Linked DNA regions of Homo sapiens: region 1 is linked to region 2. Evidence: promoter capture Hi-C in human tissues and cell types (Jung and others, 2019). All regions are on one chromosome and are shown on one strand. Each heading gives the region's core, a stretch centred on a gene start or on the middle of the fragment in contact. The rest is flanking DNA. Distances are from core to core; before and after follow the strand shown.

Region 1 (3,611 bases), core at 632-3,131, 470 kb before region 2:
CTGCCCTCAGCCAGCATGCTCTAACCATGCCACCCCCATGACTCCCTTTGACGAGATATGCATATTAACATATATCACATTTAAATCACGTAAGCAAATGACTAAGCTGCAGTGATAAAGAATGCTTTAGTTGTAATTACCACAGATAAGCACATAATTAATATCTTTGGTTCAGTAACTAGAATCGTCTTAAAAGGAAAAATTGTCCACCATGGCTCAACCTCAGCTGGCAGGTGCTAGCAAGAGGACACCAAAATGCAGGCTGAGGTATGCGTCCTCTCAAAATCAAAAGGGCCCCCAGGTGAGCCTGGCCCGGCTGGGTTAGAAAAGTCCCTGCAGCAGGGCAAATCCCTGGCCCAGCAAATGGCTCACTCCCAGCAGCCAGGCCCACAGCCCTGGGTTCATGGGAAGCAGGAGTTCCGGGTGCCATTCCTGCACAAAAGCCCTCCCAAAACGTCATGGCTTAAACAAGTTCTTATGTCCCATGGTGAGACCACAGGTGCCTCGCGGCTGGGGCTCTCTCACCTGTCTGAGGCCTTGGCCTCTCCCTCCCTCCCCTCCAACATGTCTCACCCTCCAGGCAACCCCACACGGTTTCTTTCTCCAGCAGAGCAGCCTGGACGTCTTCTAGCATGGCAGTTGGGCCCCAGGGGACCCAGGTGGGGCTACCAGGCCCCTCAAGGACAGAGCCTGCACCACGCCCAGTGTCACATCCACAGCAGTCTACTGGTTCAAGTTTGACACCAGACTGACCAGATTCACGAGGCAGGGAGGTGAGAAGTACATGCCCTTGGCTGGAGACTGTCTACCACCACAGGACACTGGAGTCACCAACCCCTCTACAGCCAGCCAACCCAGAAAGACGTTCCACTTCGGAACTCTTCAAACCTCATCTGGAGAGTGGATCCCAATACTGGGGCTCGTCACAGAGCAGCACACTGGGATGCTAAGAGCAGGCCTGGCTGAGGAGCCCGCAGGGGTGGGTCTGAATTCCCACTTCACCACTTCTACATGTGAGACTGCCGGCAACTCAACCTCTCTCCCTGACAGCTTCATCTGTAAAATGGGGATAATAAAAACGCCTCATGGAGTTTCTATAACGGATAGGTGAATTCACCCATAAAAGTGCGTGAAAGCAGGGGGTACATGGTCAGCATGTGGGGTTACTATTTTTACTCTGCTAGATGGGTCACCCTGAAGTCCACCCAAGCCACAGAAAGGACAGTGTCACAGCCCCGCGGGTCTGCTGCCACTGCCCACATTCTGCACTAGCTCTCCCTGCTTGTTGGGGTCAGGGTCGACACTCTCCCTGATTGCAGCTACTCTGTCTTAACCAACACAACCAGAGACAGAAAGGAACCGTATGAGGACCAGCAGACTCGGAGCAGAAGGGCCAGTTTGTAACAGCAGTGACAGTCCTGTGACCGTGAACTACGACATCATCGCGGCCCGTGCTTAGAGGTCCACTTGCATCATCTCCAATTAATCCTCACCCTCAGTAGGAGCTACGGCACATCTAACACAGGGAAGGCGAGGTATCGGAATCCGCTTCCTGTCTCTACGTGGGGAGATCATCCTCTTTGCAGACGTGTGGGAAGGATTAGGCAAAACAACACACAAGGGACCTAAGAAGATTCAAGGTAAGTGCCCCCACAACCTCTCTGTTTTCTCCCTTCCCCAAACTGTCTGGCTCTGTTTCTCTTGTAATAGTTTTAATTCTACTACATACACCCTTTTTTAATATCAGCTGTCCAGATGTGTTGGGAAAGCATATGGTGTTTTTGTTTTTGTTTGAGACGGAGTTTCATTCTTGTTGCCCAGGCTGGAGTGCAGTGATGCAGTCTCAGCTCACTGCAACCTCCGCCTCCCGGGTTCAAGTGATTCTCCTGCCTCAGCCTCCCAAGTAGCTGGGATTACAGGTGCCTGCTACCACGCCTGGCTAATTTTTTTGTATTTTTAGTAGAGAGGGGGGTTTCACTATGTTGGCCAGGCTGGTCTCAAACTCCTGAGCTCAGGTAATCCACCCGCCTCCCACCCGCCTCGACCTCCCAAAGTGCTGGGATTACAGGCATGAGCTGCCACCCCGGCCGAAAGCATATGTTCTTAAATATATAAAAATAAGGCCAGGCATGGTGGCTCATGCCTGTAATCCCAGCATTTTAAGAGGCCAAGGTGGGAGGATCACTTGAAGCCAGGAGTTTGACACCACCCTGAGCAACATAGCAAAACCCAATCTCTACCAAAAAAAAAAAAAAAAAAAAAAAAAAATTAGCCAGCATGGTGGCACACACCTGTATTCTTAGCTACTCAGGATGCTGAGGCAGGAGGATTGCTTGAGCCCAGGAGATCGAGGTTGCAGTGATGTTTGTGCCACTGCATTCCAGCCTGGGCAACAGAGCGAGACCCTATCTCAAACACACACACACAGGTGGACGAAACAGTATTATTACCCTCATTTAAGAAGGGATGAAGCTAAGGCTTAGAGAGATTAAGTACTGTCATGTGTTGCTTAATGACAGGGATACCTTCTGAGAAATGTGCCCTTAGGTGATTTCATTATTGTGGCAACATGATAGCATGCACTTACACAAAACGAGGTGGTATAGCCTACTACACACCTAGGCTGCAAACCTGGACTGCTTGTTACTGTACTGAATACTGTATGCAACTATAACATAATAGTATTTGTGTATCTAAACACAGAGGTACAGTAAAAATACAGTATATAATCTTATGAGACCACCATTGGGTATTCGATCTGTCATTGGCTAAAATGTCATCATGCTGAGCTTGACCGTACCTTGCCCACATGTGCAAGGCCAGTAAACGGCCCAGGGTGGATTCACAGCACTTATGAAAACCTTCCCCGTAACAACCACTCTGTGCTGCCTCCCAGGAGTGAAGCAGCAGGAAGCCCAGGGAACACAGCCCGCAGCCGATCTAGTTTTACCCTTGGCCAGGTCAGGACTGCAGAAAGCTAGCTACAGTCCATCGTTTTCTCCTAGAATTGCCTTTACACAACTGTGATCTAATGCTCCTCCTTCTGCTTCAGGTTTGATTTAAATAAACGGCCACGTGTGCATCTCTGCTTTTGGTTTCTGTTATTTCTCCCCCTGACGGACACTATTATCATGTTCAGTGCCCTTTAAGTTAATATCCACTAGATTCTTATCAAGCTTGAAGGCTAAGAAAATGTTTCTCTCTCTCAAGAAAATGTTTCATTGTATTATCAAATGAGAACTATGCAACCCAACATGCTTCCTTTCTTGCTTTGGCTACCAAGATACAATTGCACGTTCAACTGAAGGAGCTCCCCTTGGCTTAGTGTCAGTAGACGTAAGCTGAAATGTATAGGGGGACTAGAGCACAATCGGCCAGCACTTTGGGTTTCAGGTTCTTGACCTATAGATGGGGGTAACATACCTGCCACGCAGGATTATGCTGAGCATTAAACTAAACACAGATGGCAAACACCTAGCCAGGATCCGGCTCCATGGGGGTGGGTGTTCAGTGTTAATTCTCCTTCATTCTTTAATTCTCCATCCACTTCTTTTTTCCTTCACCTTTTTATCCCTCATCCCCTCTACCCCCTAAATTTGACCCCAGATTTT
Region 2 (3,222 bases), core at 305-2,804:
GCTTTTAAGCTTAAGGGAAATGCCAGAATAAACAGCAGCCATGGCTAGGCTTTATCTAAAATTTAAAAACAATGGGAAAAAAAATACTATAACAATGTCAGACTGAGCAGGCACCAGAAAACCAACAGTATTGCAGTACTGTATCTTGTTTACCTAATATGTATTCTTTTAAAAGTTTTTAATGAATCAACAGATTTGTCGGGGTAAATCTACATACAAGATGCTTGACTCCAGAATTTTCTGGGGGAAATTCAGACAAAAGCAAGCAAAAGATGGACTGCACACACAGAAGATGGACTATATGTATTCCAGCTATGATCAAACATCACTTCCACAAAGGTGAGTGTTCAGGAATTCAACAAGGCCAAAATCAGTGATTACATTACTTGTGGAAAGAGTCATTCATACATGGTTTCAAATTGAAAGAGGAAAAGATACATAAGCAATATCCGGAGAAAGTAATATGTCTCCAAGTGAAAAAGAAAACCCCAAAGGAATACAGTTATTTCAGCTGCAACAGTAACCTTCCACTAACACTTTTATTCAGTCGTGTATAAATTTACAACGCACATACACTTCAAAAAAGACTCTACAAGAGATACTTGCACAAGGAAAAGACTAAAAATAGAAAACAAAAAACCATGAAATCTCGGGGGTAGCAAACATACCAAACACCTACAGTTACTATTAAACTGGGTAAACTTGGCTTTGAGTTTCCTAAAAGTTATAGTAAAAAGGAACGTTAAGACGTTTTCATTTTAGAAATTAAGTTATCCTTCACTCTACTGCAGAGAACAAGAACGTCAAGTGCTGTCAGTTTTCCTATTTTGTCAAAATGTCCAAAACGAATTCAACGATGCCTGACTTTCTAAGTTCAATACCATAGAACCGCCATCGCGACAGCTACAAAGTGCATAACAGGTGTTTGCTGAACTGGCTACAAAGACAACCGAGATGCTCTCCCCGGCTCCGCCAGAGTTCGGCTCTCCGGGCCTCCAACCGCCCTTACCGGGCAATGCGAAGTCCAGGGCGGACAGCACAGCCCTGCCAGCACTCCCTGCCCAGCAGAAAGAGACCAAGCAACAAGAACCAGGGGAGAGCAGCTAGGAGCCAGGAGGGAGTTCGCCTTCGCGAATGGAGCGTGCCGAAGCCGCTCCAGCCCAGAGTCTGCTGGCGGCACCGGAACTGGGCAGGGTTGGGGGGCCCCCCATCTGGGCCCGGCCTTAGGTAGGGGGATCTCCTCTGGACCAGCCCCGGGTGGGGGGACTCACCTCGGGACCTGGCTGCCCGCAGGGGCTGACCGCAGGTGGGGGACTCACCTCGGGATCCGGCCCGGTAGGGGGCTCAGCTCGAGACAGCTCCGGGTAGACAGGGGAGGACGGCGGCAGCGGCGGCGGCTGCTGTCCCGGTGCGGCGGAGGCCGCTGTACGGGTCCCGCGTCCCCACCACGTGGGACCGGTACCCGCGCTCCTTCCGCCGGACGCCGGCGGCGCAGCGGGGAGGGGCTGCACGCACGCCAGGCGTCGCCAGCCGAGCGCCGAGGCGCCTCGCCCATTGGCGGAGACGGTTGCGCGTTGGAGGCCCGAGCGGCCCAGCCCGCGGCCCGCTCCGTGTCAGTCAGTCATGGAGCGGCCGCCCAGAGCGGCGGCGGGGGCGGCGGGGCGCGGGGCGCGGGGGCCCAGCTGAGCCGGCCGTCGGAGTGAGACCCTGCGGCAGAGACGACGGAGGCGGAAGCAACCCGATCCCGGAGGCGGCGGCGGCGGGGGGAGCCGGAGCCGCCTGGGATGTTCAGTGAGTGCCGGGAGCACGGGCGGGGAGGGCCGGGAGGGTCGCGAGGCGCGCGCGCGCGCGGGCGGGCGGGGGCCGGGGCGGTGGGGCCTCGGCGGGGCGCGCCTTGGCTCCCGCCGGCGGGCGGTGGGGGTGGGGCGCGGGAGGCGGGGCTGGGGGGCGGCGGGCGGCTCTGCGCGGGCGCGACGGCCGCGCCTCCGCCCTCGGCCTCCCGAGTCCCGGGCTGCGGCCGGCGGCGTGGCCTGCAGTCGGCGGCTACACCTGGACTGGCGTCGCGTTCCTGCGCAGGGGTGGGTCCTGCGGGTTGGATGCCGGGCTCGGGGAGGAGGTGGCGGGCGCCCGCGGGGAAGGTATCCCAGTGCCCGACAGCCAAGCAGGGAGCACGGCTCCACAGCTCCTTTGCATGTAGGGGAAAAGGAAATGTCTTTGCGGCGAAGTCGGGATTCAACTTTGCACATGGTGATCGTGCGTGGGTGGGTGTGGAGTCGATCTCCGCGTGTGACACGGGGGAGCCAGAGTTAGACTAGCTGCTGCAGGAGAGTGCTTACCTGCAAGGGTGTCTCTCGGGGCTCGTTGCCTCATGACAGCAAGGTAAGGTTGGTGCGCCCATGGTGTGGGACGGGTTCACCACCTCCAGCTCGCGAAGCTGCCAGGCTTTTGAAAATGTATTCGATAAGGCGTTGGTCCGAAGTGAGTGGATGGTTAGAAACAGTGGTGTCATTTTAGACTTAGCGGAAGTGGAGTGCAGGAACGCTACATGCAGTTCTCCCATCAGTTGTGAAAGTCGTTGTAATGCGGATCTCGCAGTCTTTGTGGTTCTGGGATCAGAAGGTAAGTGCCAGTCCCATGCAGTGTCTGTCTTAAATTACTGTACCTAAACTGACCTTGCAGATTGGAATCTCGGAATGGTGACTCCTGCTAACAAGCAGTTGGGAGCTGTGCTGAGAGGAACATTAAGTGCGGAGCGTGTCTTATATCAGGCGATTCAAGTGTGCCAACACCTGAGTTGGGGATGTAGGGGAGGACACGGAGGCTGTGCCCCAGTTCCTGGTCACAGCTCTACTTGGAAGGGGGAGTAGGAAAGGGAGTTTTGTGCTTAATAGGTTAAATGCATCTGGCCACATCTTTAAACTTTGGAACAGCATAATGTAGTGGATAGAGCTTGGTGACAGTAGACCTAGGATGGAAACCATGTAGCCATCTGCATAACCTCTCTGAACTGTAGTTTCCTCATCTATAAAATGCGATGATAAGGAATAACTTAAACGTGGATTTTTTTTTATCTTTAAGAGACAGGGTGCCTCTATGTTGCCCAGGCCTGGGCTCAAGCAGTCCTCCCGCCTCAGCCTCCCAAAAAACGACCTTTTTAAAGGTACCCAGAAAAAGAATGATGTGTATGAAAATAGCTAAATGTTAGCTATTATCGTTTCCTTT

The links. The method cuts DNA at HindIII sites, captures the fragments that hold promoters and counts their contacts. A contact is called where the count stands out against the background at its distance.
Region 1: a contact is called between a fragment that was not itself captured here and the fragment with the promoter of TAF5L in region 2, in 1 of the 25 tissues and cell types used here (dorsolateral prefrontal cortex).

Annotation. Positions count from the first base shown.
Region 1 is chr1:230,092,821-230,096,431 of GRCh38, reverse strand. The region is part of intron 1 of GALNT2 (polypeptide N-acetylgalactosaminyltransferase 2); the gene reads right to left. Among named protein-coding and RNA genes, the nearest start is that of GALNT2, 27 kb to the right of the region's middle. The HindIII fragment of the contact is 6,338 bases long and covers 1-3,611 here.
Region 2 is chr1:229,624,454-229,627,675 of GRCh38, reverse strand. TAF5L (TATA-box binding protein associated factor 5 like) reads left to right here and starts at 1,554. Exons shown (of 5, transcript NM_014409.4): 1 at 1,554-1,791. URB2 (URB2 ribosome biogenesis homolog) reads right to left here and starts at 1,429. Exons shown (of 10, transcript NM_014777.4): 1 at 1,320-1,429; 2 at 1-55. The coding sequence starts at 42. RefSeq lists enhancers at 856-935, 2,596-2,645 and silencers at 1,126-1,825, 1,916-2,105. The HindIII fragment of the contact is 5,407 bases long and covers 1-3,222 here.